Regions from separate parts of the Homo sapiens genome. Here region 2 is linked to region 1. Evidence: promoter capture Hi-C in human tissues and cell types (Jung and others, 2019). All regions are on one chromosome and are shown on one strand. The core of a region is centred on a gene start or on the middle of the fragment in contact, and the rest is flanking DNA. Distances in the headings are between cores, read along the strand shown.

Evidence for each region. The method cuts DNA at HindIII sites, captures the fragments that hold promoters and counts their contacts. A contact is called where the count stands out against the background at its distance.
Region 2: a contact is called between a fragment that was not itself captured here and the fragment with the promoter of AP1M1 in region 1, in 3 of the 25 tissues and cell types used here (H1 embryonic stem cells, dorsolateral prefrontal cortex and spleen).

Annotation. Positions count from the first base shown.
Region 1 is chr19:16,193,943-16,200,615 of GRCh38, reverse strand. It overlaps AP1M1 (adaptor related protein complex 1 subunit mu 1), which reads right to left and starts at 2,705. Exons shown (of 12, transcript NM_032493.4): 1 at 2,548-2,705. The coding sequence starts at 2,589. RefSeq lists a silencer at 2,322-2,561. The HindIII fragment of the contact is 7,648 bases long and covers 1-6,661 here.
Region 2 is chr19:16,093,532-16,100,204 of GRCh38, reverse strand. It overlaps TPM4 (tropomyosin 4), which reads right to left. Exons shown (of 8, transcript NM_003290.3): 6 at 6,607-6,669; 7 at 6,452-6,521. Among named protein-coding and RNA genes, the nearest start is that of RAB8A, 15 kb to the left of the region's middle. RefSeq lists a silencer at 2,821-3,018 and an enhancer at 5,353-6,226. The HindIII fragment of the contact is 3,724 bases long and covers 1,641-5,364 here.

The DNA.
Region 1 (6,673 bases), core at 1,456-3,955:
TGATTAAATGCAGTCGGCTCACGAGGCTGACTTTGGAAACAGGAGGTCCGTGGGTCGTGGAATAAGAAAGGGCATCATGGTTGCAGAGGAAGGGAAGGAAGCCCACGGCTGCCTTGGGGAGCTTTCTGAAAGGCAGGTCTGATCATGCCTCTCTGGGCTACGGTCTCCTCACGGTGGCTCCTGGTTGGAACTGAAGTGGTCCCCTTGGTCCCTCTCTCCCATCTCAGCATTAGCCAGGACTTCTGGCTTGGCAGCCCCAGCAGGCTGCCCCTTGCAACACCTCTTTTCCACATGATCGTGCCTTCCAAACCTACTTCCAGCGTCGCCCTCTTCAGGGAGCCTTTCATAACCACCTCCCCCTTCCACTGGCTAAAGATGAGGTTGAGCAACTGCAGGACTTGGGACCTTGTTCCTGCCCCTGTGGCTGCCTGGATCCAACTGTGTGGTAATGTCTCTGCTTCTAGGTGACTCCCCTGCTAGACCGAGAGGCCTGGGAGAGCTAACATGGACCATGGGTGGTGCTGAGCCTGTCTCATGCATCTGCTCAGCAAATCTGCACAATAACTCCATAAAAGCCTCTTTTGACCAGTGAGGAAAGTGAGGCTCAGACAGGAGAAGGTGCCTGTCCCAGGTCACACAGCTGAGCAGCAGGGATGGGTTTTGAGCTCACCCCTAACACCACAGCCATGGCGCCAATGGACACCCTATGCCCGGCATAGGGCAGGGTGCATGCTAGGTGCTCATGAAATGTTTGCTGAAGGAATAAGCAAGCCAAGACAGGCAGCCCACTGGCACCTCTGGGGAGGCAGTGGCCAGGGTGGAAGCAAGACTCATTCCACCAGGACTCATTCCACCGCACCACCCAGCCCCTGGCGTGCTCTAAGACGGGTGTCTTCCCTCCTTCCAAGAAGGCGGGGGAGGGAAGCCCAGCACTGGGTCTCACCAGTTGTTGACTTTGGGTGGCTTCCAGAGCAGGCACCCACTCAAGGGACTTCAGGAAAGTGCTGGGGGTGGGGTGGGGCGGGAAGGGGCAGCCATTTCACCTCTTCACTCTCAGCTGCTTTAGGGCTCACCCCTGCCCGCCTCACCTAGGACCTGACACCCATGTTTGTTTCTCTCACTGATCAATGTTGGGCTTCACATTGTTGGACCGGTTCTTGTTGCTTCCACATGCAACAGGCCAGGCAGCCACCTGCCTTGCACCTGGGATGGACTTAGGAGAAGGCAGAGGACCATTTCTAAAAGGTGGGGACAATCCCTTCTTAAAGTTTTCTCAGATCCTCTGGGGAAGATGCCTGGGTTCTAGTTTATGTCCAGCTCCCTGGTGTCTCTGGTCCATTTGTCACCCCTCCTCAGGGAAACCCTCTCTCATCCTCGGGCTGAGGCTGACTGTCTGTATAACACACTCGCCCCTCAACACCACTGCAATTGACATTTATTTGTGTTTTTGGAGATGGGTATCCATCTCCCCTACCAGCCTGTGAACACCGTAAGAACACAGATTGTTGAGCCCTGGCACATGACTCACACCTGTAATCCCAGCACTTTGGGAGGCTAAGACAGGTGGATCACTCGAGGTCAAGAGTTCGAGACCAGCCTGGTCAACATGGTGAAACCCTGCCTCTACTAAAAATACAAAATTTAGCTCGGCGTAGTGGCAGGTGCCTGTAATCCCAGCTACTTGGGAGGCTGAGGCAGGAAAATTGCTTGAACCCGGGAGGCGGAGGTTGCAGTGAGTGGAGATTGCACCACTACACTCCAGACTGGACGACTGAGCATGACACTATCTCAAAAACAAAACAAAAAAAAAGGGACTGTTTTTTGCTAAACACAAATCGACCCCAGGCTTAGTACCCTGCCCGGCATTAGTAGGTGCTCCCCAGATATCAGCTGAATAAACGAATGATTCTGGATCGGACTCCTAGACTTGCTACTTCTCTGTGACCATTGTGACCTTGGTCAGGTTGCTTCACCTCTCCATGCCTCAGTTTCTCCCTCTATAAAACGGCACTCGTGATCACCACTCACCTCACCTAATCCTTGTAACTCACTATCACAATGAACGTGGAGAAATTCCTACTGAGAGAAAGTGCACGATAAACAGAAGCTGTAACGCCCTGAGAAGGCGGGACTGGCTCGAGAGCACCCAGTCCCCGCCACGCCTCGCCACCCCCGGCCAAGGGTCGCGCAGCCCCTGGACGCCCTGCCTGGCTCCGAGGCCGGCTGCGGCCCCGCTTCTGGGTCCTCCACCGAGGCCCGAGCCCCCGGCCCCGGCGCCGGGGAGCAGAGGGCGGTGCAGTCAGTTACCTGGCAACGCGGTGGCTGCAGCCCACCGCGTTACGTAGCAACAGGGCGGGGATTACCCACTTAAGACCCCCGCCCGGTTACCCAGAAACAGGATGGGGCTCTCAGGTGAGGTCTACCGGCCTCTCTGCCTCACACCAGGATGGGGCTCATAAGCCGGTTACCTAGCAACAGGGTGGGTCCCCGCGGGCGGAGGCCCCTGCCGGTTGCCTGGCAACAGGGAGGGTGGGGAGCCCTCAGTACCTTGCCCTTCAGGTCCAGCACGTAGACGGCGCTGGCGGACATGATGGCTGCAGGAGGCCTCGGCAGCGGCCGAGGGCGGTGGCGGCGGCAGCGACGGTGGGGACTGCTGGGCGTTGAGCAAGGCCGGGCGCCGCCCGCGACAGCTCACCTCCACTTCCGGTTCGGGGAGCCGCGCGGGGACCGTTATGTCCGGTCCGGGAGGTGCTGTCAGGAATGCGCAGGCGCAGGACGGACTGTGCGCAGGCGCATTACGTCGTATGTAACCATGTTTCTTGCTCCCGCCAGAAGCATCCCGGAAGTAAGGCCCGGTGGGGCGGGGCCGACCAAATCAGGGCACCCAGTGGCCGCTGCCAGGCTGAGCTATGGAGCCAGAGCAGCTGGAAACGGCCTCCCGTGGGCCGAGTTAGGCGAGAGAGCCTGGTGGTGAAACCGACCTGGGGCCCAGCCCTATGGAGCTCACAGTCTGGTGGGGAAGTCTATGAAACAAGTGTACAGTCACCAATTGTGATAAGCTCAAAAGAGAGAGGTAAGGTCGTGGTTACTTGGAAAGAGGTCAAACAAACTTTCTGAATGGCAATCAAACCTTATCAACAGTCACCACCTGTCATTGTCAACATTTATCAATGAATGAGTGTGCCTGTTTATTGCCTGGAATGTTATGAAAACCAGCCTCACTGAACCTTGACCCAACATACCGTGTTTCATTTCTGCAAAGTTAGTAATCAGTAATGCAACTGGTGGCCCTTGATTAATCCATTGAGTCATATTTAATTTGCTTTTATGAACTCTTGGGCTTTGGAGAAATGCCTGCATTCTGTTCCAGTTAGCCATCATAGTACCCTGGGGATCCCAACCCTGCAATACCAGAGTGATTTACCCAGGATGCCTGCCTCTCACATCTTTTATTTTCTGTCTTATCTCCGTTTTGGCGTTTGGAAAGATGATTTTTGCAACTCGGTAATTATATAGTGTTTTGCTTAGGAAAGAAATGTGACCGAAACTCTAGAGAAGCAAACTAGAATGTTTGAAGACTGCTAAGTGACTCCTGGGCTGGAAGGATTCTTGCTCAAGGCACAGAGCAAGCAGCCAAGAGAGGGTTTTTGTTGTTTGCTTTTTTTTTTTTTTTTTTTTTTGAGATGGAGTCTCACTCTGTCACCCAGGCTGGAGTGCAATGGCATGATCTCGGCTCACTGCAACCTCTGCCTCCTGGGTTCAAGTGATTCTCTTGTGTGTCAGCCTCTCAAGTGGCTGGGATTACAGGCATGTGCCACCACACCTAGCTAATTTTTGTATTTTTAGTAGAGACGTGGTTTCACCATGTTGGCCAGGCTTGTCTCAAACTCCTGACCTCACGTGATCCACCCACCTCGGCCTCCCAAAGTGCTGGGATTACAAGGGTTAAGTTAAATATTAAAAGATAAGAGAGCCAGTGCCCTTATACAAAGGCTGGGATGTAACAAAAGCCCACCCAGAGTTGTGCCTAGGCCTTTCCTGGGCCTTGAAGCATGACAAGATAATGAAGGAATTCTTAACAGGACCCTTTTAGGATTAAACAAGCTTTATTGGCGGTCTGAAGAAACTCCTCAGGCCTCCACAAACAAGTTTATTGGGGTTTGAAGGAACTCCCCCAAACCTCCATGATTTAGCAGGAGATAAGATAAGGGTAATCACCCCAGCACCTGGACCCACTTAGATTAAGTAAATTTACTGAGGCTCCAGAGGAAGGTCTTCAGGACTCAGATCTTAGTTATGGGTTAAAAGACTATAACTTACTTACGTCTTTAGATGAATGCACACCTACACGTAGACATATAGCTTAGAAGGTATATGAGCTCTGGAAGACTTTGTAATTTTGGGTTGGTCTGGTGATATTTTCCAGGCCTTCTCCCTGTAACCAGTTACAGAAATAAAAACTCTCTTCCTCCCTAGTTCATCTGTGTCTCATTATTGGGCTGTGAGATATAGAAGCCCAACCCTCAGTTTGGTCTGGGAATAGGTTAGGAGTGGGGGTCTCAAAAGCCCCCCCAATACAACACACACAATAAGAACCACTGAGGCCTGAAAGCCATGTATAGAGATTTTGTTTTAATTGGTCTGGGCCAGGGTTTGGTTATTGGGATTTTTCTTTTTTTTAATTTTTTTTTTGAGACAGAGTCTCACTCTGTCACCAGGCTGGCATGCAGTGACACGATCTCGGCTCACTGCAACCTCTGCCTTCCAGGTTCAAGTGATTCTCCTGCCTCAGCCTCCCAAGTAGCTGGAACTATAGGTGCCTGCCACCATGCCCAGCTAATTTTTGTATTTTTAGTAGAGACGGGGTTTCACCATGTTGGCTAGGATGGTCTTGATCTCTTGACCTTGTGATCCGCCCGCCCCACCTCCCAAAGTGCTGGGATTACAGGTGTGAGTCACCGCGCCTGGCCTTCTTTTCCTTTCTTTTTTTTTTTTTTTGAGGCACGGTCTTATCCTGTCACCAGGCTGGAGTGCACTGGTGCAATCTCGGCTCACTGCAACCTTCACCTCCTTGGCTCAGCTGGGACTACAGATGCACACCATCAAGGCCAGCTAATTCTGGTTTTTTGTTTTTTTTTTTGAAACAGGGTCTCGCTCTGTCACCCAGGCCGGAGTGCAGTGGTGCAATCTCAGCAGCTCATTGCAACTTCTGCCTCCTGGGTTCAAGCGATCCTCCAACCTTAGCCTCCTGAGTAGCTGGGACTACAGATGTGTGCCACCAGGCCCAGATCAGTTTTTGTATTTTTAGTAAAGATGGGGTTTCACTATGTTGGCCAGGCTTAATTTTGCGATTTTTGTACAGATGGGGTTTCCCCATGTTGCCCAGGCTGGTCTCAAACACCTCGGCTCAAGTGATCTGCTCGCCTTGGCCTCCCAAAGTGCTGGGATTAAAGGCATGAGCCACTGCGCCCAGCCTGGTTATTGGGATTTTTTTCCAAGCTCCCCAGATGATGCTAATAGGAAACAAAATTTGAGAAACCCTGGTGTATCATAATAGGTATGATCTTTCTTTCTTTTTTTATTTTATCTTTTTGAGACTGAGTCTCAAATAAAAAAAAAAAAAAAGTTGCTTGGTTCTATGGCTCATGCCTGTAATCCCAGCACTTTGGGAGACAGAGACAGGAGGATCACTTGAGCCCAGGAGTTTCAGACTAGCCTGGGGAACATGATGAAACCCCATCTCTACAAAAAATACAAAAATTAGCTGAGTGTGGTGGCACACACTTGTAGTCCCAGCTACTTGGGAGGCTGAAACAGAAGAATCACTTGAACCTGGGAGGTTGACAAGGCTGCAGTGAGCTATAGTGGCATCACTGTACTCCAGCCTGGGCAACAGAGTAAGATCTCTAAAACATTACAATAAATGGGGCAAAATATGAGACTAGGTCCAACAGGGTTTGTTACATATCGCGTCTATTTCTGTTAACTCTTGGTGAACAGACCCTGATGTTCTTCCTGAGCAGTGGGAAGTCACAGCTGTGGCCGGGCTTGGTGGCTGACACCCACAATCCCAACACTTTGGGAGGCCGAGGCAGGAGGATCACTTGAGGTTGAGGCCAGTAGTTTGAGACCTGGGCAACATAGGGAGACCCTATCTCTACAAAGAGATAAATAAATCAGCTGGGTATGGTGATGTACACTTGTGATCCCAGCTACTCAGGAGGTCGAGGTGGGAGGATCACTTCAGCCTGGGAGGTCAAAGCTGCAGTGAGCCGTGATCACACCACTGCACTCCAGCCTGGGCAAGAGAATGAGACCCCATCTCAAAATAATAATAATGGTAATAATAATAGTCCTGACATCTCATCGGATTCCTTCTAGAGCTTAATCACTGGGCAATTAGTATCAAAAGCCTCTCTTGGCTGGGCATGGTGGTTCACGCCTGTAATCGCAGCACTTTGGGAGGCCGAGGCAGGTGGATCACCTGAGGTCAGGAGAGTTTGAGACCAGCCTGGCCAACATACCGAAACCCTGTCTCTACTAGAAATACAAAAATTAGCCGGGCACGGTGGTGCATGCCTGGAATCCCAGCTACTCCAGAGGCTGAGAGGCAGGAGAATTGCTTGAACCCGGGAGGCAGAGTTGCAGTGAGCCGAGATCGCACCAATGCACT
Region 2 (6,673 bases), core at 2,253-4,752, 100 kb after region 1:
TAACCTTCCTAGGTCTGTTTTCCCCGTCTGTCAAATGGGGGTAACGATATCAATGCGTGGTGTGGGGGTTATGATGAGGAATAAAGGAGAAATACTTCAGAACCTATGACGTGCTGCTACATGAAGATTTCAGTCCTAGATATGTGTGACTTAATATAAATTTCCACCCAAGTGCTAGTTAATTAGCCCCTGAGCCTTTGATAGTTAAATCTAAAATCCTGTAACCCATCTTTCCTTCGGAGCTTCTGGGAATGGCTGTTTAAATTATACACATAATTGTGTAACTGTCTATGAATCCAGGAGAACGGAGACAAACCCCAGGTAAATGCGAAATTTAAGCCATTCTACAGGCATGTTATTAAGTAACTGAGCTGATGAAACAATTTAAATTAAAAAAGAAAGAGAGAGAGAAAAAAGACGCCATTTAGAGCTATGCGTGACAGAGCACGAGAGAGAACTTAGTTTGCAGTAAGTGATGGCTGATAAGGGACAAGGCCAAGACTCATTAAAATGCTGGGGGAAAGCAAAATGCCTCATAAAATGTGATATCATCAGCCTGGAAATTTACAGAAAGAAAAAAATGACTGCAGAAGATGGCAGCCTTTCTTATTTATTTATTTTTAAACAGGGTCTTGCTCTGTTGCCCAGGCTGGAGTGCAGTGGCATGATCATAGCTCACTGCAGCCTTGACCTCCTGGGCTCAAGTGATCCTTCTACCTCAGCCTCCCAAGTAGCTGGGACTACAAGTGCGTGCCACTACACCCAGCCAATTCTTGTATTTTTAGTAGAGATGGGGTTTCGCCATGTTGCCCAAGCTGGTCTCATGCAATCCACCCACCTCGGCCTCCCAAAGTGCTGGGATTACTGGCATGAGACACCATGGATCCTTGATGTAAGGAGTTCGAGACCAGCCTGGCCAACATGGCGAAACCCCATCTCTACTTAAAAATACAAAAAATTAGCCGGGTGTGGTGGCGCACACCTGTAATCCCAGCTACACAGGAGGCTGAGGCAGGAGAATCACTTGAACCCGGGAGGCGGACACTGCAGTGAGCCGAGATTGCGTCACTGCCCTCCAGCCTGGGTGACAGAGTGGGACTCCATCACACACACACACACACACACACACACACAGAGTCAAGTGACTATGACCTGGGAGGATTCTATCAGACAGATCAGTGACCTGGGCCTATCCAGTCTGGGTGAATAGATGTTAACTGAATGCTGACTATGTTGGACGAGCCAGTTTCTCCATTATCTCATTTAATCCTCATAACAGAGATATCACCTTTATTTTGCAGAAAACCTAAGCAGCTTGTTCACGTTGGCATGGTTAAAGTAGTAGAGCTAGGATTTTAAATCCTGGTCTCTTTATTTATTATTTTATTAAAAAATTTTTTAAAAATAAAATATTATTATGAATAATTTTAGAGATGGGGTCTTGCCATATTGCCCAGATTGGTCTCAAACTCCTGAGCTCAAGTGATCCGCCTGCCTTGGCCTCCCAAAGTGCTGGGATTACAAGTGTGAGCCACTGCGCCAGGCCTTAAACCCTGGTCTCTTGACTACAAATCCTGACTTCGCTTCATCTTGTCACTCAGATGCTTTAGCATCTATTTTGTTATTAGGTCTGAGATAAAATGACTTTCCCTGAAAGTGTTAACTGCCCTTGAGAATCACGACAAGGCTCACAGACTATCAACAGATAGTGTAGACCTCCATAGTGCTAATCTCTTTTCTTTTCTTTTCTTTTTTTTTGAGGCGGAGTCTCACTCTGTCGCCCAGGCTGGAGTACAAAGGTTCGACCTTGGCTCACAGCAAGCTCCGCCTCCCAGGTTCAAGTGATTGATTTTCCCACCTCAGCCTCCCCAGTAGCTGGGATTACAGGCCCCCATGACCATGCCCGGCTAATTTTTGCATTTTTAGTAGAGACAGAGTTTCACCATGTTGACCAGGTTGGTCCTGAACTTCTGACCTCAAGTGACCTGCCTGCCTTGGCCTCCCAAAGTGTTGGGATTACAGGCGTGAGCCACCGTGCCCGGCCATAGCACTAATCTCTGAAATTCCACTTATGTGCTTAGTTAGGTAGAATAACTGGATAGACAGGCTGCATAGTTACTTCAAAGGGTGGAGTCCAGAAATGCCTGGAGAAATTCCAGGGACAAACACACAGACTCCAAACAAAAACCAGCCCCCTACACAGTCTGTAATCTTTCCAAGGGCATATATATGGCAATGTGTGAGGGGAATGGTTTTTGCAGAAGTTCAGGATGGACGGCAGTTAGGAGCAGGGAGAGGCTGAGGGTGGAAAGGTGGAGGTGGTTTAGGGGAGGTGCATTTTGGAGGAATGGATGAATAGAGAGAGTAATGGGGACAGAGCTTCCCACCTGGACAAAAAAATAGGATGAGGAATAACAATGGATACCGAAAATTCAGGATCTAGTTGGAGATTTTCATGCCATTTCCAGGTTCAAGGGGTAGTCTGGAAGATGTGGCTTGAACATCTAAATGTCAATTATCTGTGATAATTTGAGGTGGTAGTGGTGGTAGGATGCAGGGGAGAACCAGATGCACTATTTGAAATTTTGGGACAAATTGGTATGTTTTTGATCATTAGAAAAGCATAGCTTGGGCCAGGTGCAGTGGCTCACACCTGTAATCCCAGCACTTTGGGAGGCCGAGGCGGGTGGATCACCTGAGGTCAGGGGTTCAAAACCAGCCTGGCCAACATGGTGAAACCCTGTCTCTACTAAAAATACAAAATTAGCCAGGCATGGTGGCGCATGCCTGTAGTCCCAGCTACTTGGGAGGCTGAGGCAGGAGAATTGCTTGAACCCGTGAGGCAGAGGTTGCAGTGAGCAGAGATGGCGCCACTGCACTCCAGCGTGGGCAACAAGAGCGAAACTCCGTCTCAAAAAGAAAGAAGAAAAAAAAAAGCAAAGCATAGCCTGGGCCGGGCAAAGTGGCTCACGCCTGTAATCCCAGCATTTTTGGAAGCTGAGGTGGGCGGATCAGTTGAGGCCAGGAGTTTCAGACCAGCCTAGCTAACATGGTGAAACCCCATCTCTACTGAAAGTACAAAAATTAGCTGAGTGTGGTGGTCCGCGACTGTAATCCCAGCTACTCGGGAGGCTGAGGCATGAGAATCACTTGAACCCAGGAGGCGGAGGTTGCAGTGAGCCAAGATGGCGCCACTGCACTCCAGCCCGGGCAACAGAGTGAGACCCTGTCTTGAAAAAAAAAAAAAAAAAAAAAAAAAAAAAAAAAAGAGTGACCTTGTTTTCTCCATATTCCTCATGTAGGAAAAAGCATGACCTTTTATTACCCACAGGTCAACCTTAAGAGCTATTCTAAACTAAAGCAAGGTTCCTGTTATAACTAACTGAAATATGAATGGAGATTGATGTTAGCAGTCTCAGGCAATTCTGGAATTCGGGAAAAGAATTCTAAATTCACGTCTTCTGACGTCACAGCACTTTCCCTGTTCATGGAGGCCCGTTCACTCCTTGTACAGTCAGTTTTCTAAGGGCAGGGCGTGGAGGTGAACTTCCTCCCAGGACTGGGAGCTGGATGAACAGTGAAGAGTAAAGCCACGGGAAGCCCCAGTCACCACACTCACAGTGTAACACAGAGAAAAGACACAAGAAAAGGAGGAAATGGAGATCAAAATGTCACTGCCGCTGTTTGAATCTGTAGCTCAAGCCCCATTCAAGGGGAGCCTCATTTTTGACACAGGCTTGCTGGTTTTTCCAAATCCCTGTTGACTCTTAAGCTGCCTAAGCGGTTTACAAGGATGAGCCTCCATTCACAACAATTTCTATTTAAGGAAAAACCATTGGGGATGGGCGCGGTGGCTCATGCCTGTAATTGCAGCACCCTGGGAGGGTGAGGTGGGCAGACTGCCTGAGCCCAGCAGTTCAAGACCAGCCTGGGCAACATAGTGAAACCCTCCCGCTTCTACAAAAAGTACAAAAATGGCCAGGCGTGATGGCTCAAGCCTGTAATCCCTGCACTTTGGGAGGCCAAGGCAGGCGGATCACAAGGTCAGGAGTTTGAGACCAGCCTGACCAACATGGTGAAACCCTGTCTCTACTAAAAATCCAAAAGAAAAATTAGCCAGGTGTGGTGGTGTATGCCTGTAATCTCAGCTACTTGGGAGGCTGAGGCAGGAGAATTGCTTGAACCCGGGAGGCGGAGGTTGCAGTGAGCCGAGATTGCACCACTGCACTCCAGCCTGGGCGACATAGTGAGACTCCGCCTCAAAAAAAAAAAAAAAAAGTACAAAAATTAGCCTTGTGTGGTGGTGCACACCTGTAGTTCCAGCTACTTGGGAGGTCGAGGTGGGAGGATAGCTTGAGCCTTGTAGGTGGAGGTTGCAGTGAACTATGATGGTGTCACTGCACTCCAGCCTGGGTGACAAAGCAAGACCCTGTCTCAAAACAAAAAAACAAAAAAAAATTATTGGCATGCAGATGCCGTTAGCTAACAGCGGTATCTGAGAGCACATGCCCAGTTTGCTTTTGTTTTCACGTCTTCAGAAAAGCATCCTGTAGGCATAATTTTCTTTTTGTAATAAGCTTTTCATTTGTGAGTGAGAGAGGCTAACCACCCACTTTGTGTTTCAGGCTATGGTTAAGGGCACACAGCTACAGCTCAAAGGCAGCAAGTGGAGAAAATGAGAATGAGGGGGCATGAAGAGGAGGACTGCCCGTCTTTATTTCGGTTGTAGAGTCACAGACACATCAGAAGAAGGCTCTGACGTTCAAACCAGAAGGCAGGCCACCGGAGCTCCTAGAAGCCCACAGGGGCGTAGGAGGCACCATGTGAGAAGGACAGAGGGCAGCGACCTGGCTGCCTCTCAGAGAGAGGTCATGTCGTTGAGAGCGTGGTCCAGTTCCTCGCTGATAGCTTTGTACTTGAGCTTCTGAGCGTATAACTCATCTAGAGGGCGGAGGTCCCCAGGGAGACAGTTCAGAAGTACAGGGGACAGAAGGCAAGGGTCGGAATGGAGTGCCACAGATGAACCACAAGAGGAAGAAAAAAACACGTGAGCAAACAAAGCACAGACTAGGAGAAAGCTGTGTTCCATGTGAAACAGATGAAGAAAACCAAAGATCTATGGAGTTGATCTCTAAGTGGTTTGAGGTTCTGCAGGGGGATTAGCCACAATGAAGCTTCAAAACAGTGGTAACCAGAAGTGACAGAGCTTCCCCCCACTGGTCCCCACCCCTCAGTTTATTTCGGATTTCCAATGACGTCACCCTGTCCAAAGGTCGTATTTTGGAATGGGGCATTTTCCCTTATATGGGAACCTCACTTCCCCAAAAAAACATTGGAAGATATGGTCTGAAGAATGTGTCCTTTCTGGGTGGGATGGGCAGTTTGGAAGATTCCATTTGAACCCCAAGATTCTGGAATTTCTGAGGCCGAATGTTAAACACTGGAACTCTTGAAAAAATTCTGGGAGAAGTGGGCCCCAGACTTGCAGACTAGTCTTTATTGCAGTCCCTACACTTTCTGTATTTCTGTTTTTTTTTTTAAATACTATGATAAGCTTTGAGCTCCCTGGGACAGAGCTTCTGCAAAAATGCAAGGCATGTAAAAAAAAAATGCAAGGCATCTATCAGAAATGAGCAAACAGAAGGAAATTGTGAAGTTTTTTTTTTTTTGAGACGGAGTCTGGCTCTGTCACCCAGGCTGGAGAGCTGTGGCGTGATCTTGGCTTACTGCAACCTCCGCCTCCCAGGTTCAAGGGATTCTCCCTGCCTCAGCCTCCCCAGTAGCTAGGATTACAGGCGTGCACCACCACGCCTGGCTAATTTTTTCTATTTTTGGTAGAGACGGGGTTTCACCATGTTGGCCAGGTTAGTCTCAAACTCCTGATTTCAAGTGATCCGCCCGCCTCGGCCTCCCAAAGTGCTAGGATTACAGGCTTGAGCCACTGCGCCTGGCCTGAGATTTTTAATTTATTATTAATATTTTTTTAATCAGAGAGAGCCATACTCTTTTCTCTATACTTGCTCATGGGACTAACTAAGCAGAGATATTTTACCTCCTGAAAGTGGCAATTCAATTAGCCAGGTGTGGCGGCACACGCCTGTAGTCCCAGCTACCTGGGAGGCTGAGGCAGGAGAATCACTTGAACCCGGGAGGCGCAGGTTGCAGTGAGCCGAGATGGCGCCACTGCACTCCATCCAGCCTGGGAGACAGAGCCAGACTCCGTCTCATAGAAAAAAAAAAAAAAAAAAAAAAGGGCCATTCAAGCCTGAATGCTTTGCATTATCCTATTCCAGTGTTCCAGGACATCCAGATATGACATCACTATGCGCTTTACTTTCCTAAGGCAAACAAAGCCCAACCCAGCCCCTCCACAAACATTCCCCAACTGTCCGTGGATGTGTCCCAGAGGGGAAGGCAGGGCAAGGCAAACATTTAGATGGTAACCTCATACCTTCCAGGTCATCAATTGTCTTTTCCAGTTTTGCAACCGTTCTCTCTGCAAATTCAGCACGGGTCTCAGCCTAGATAAGAAGAAAGGAGTTACTATCATGGCTTCAAGACCAGCCCCAGGAGAAACCAGAGCTCGCTGGGTGCCACCACACTCACCTCTTTCAGTTTGTCAGACAGAAGTTTAATTTCTTCTTCATATTTGTCCTCCTTTTCAGAATACTGT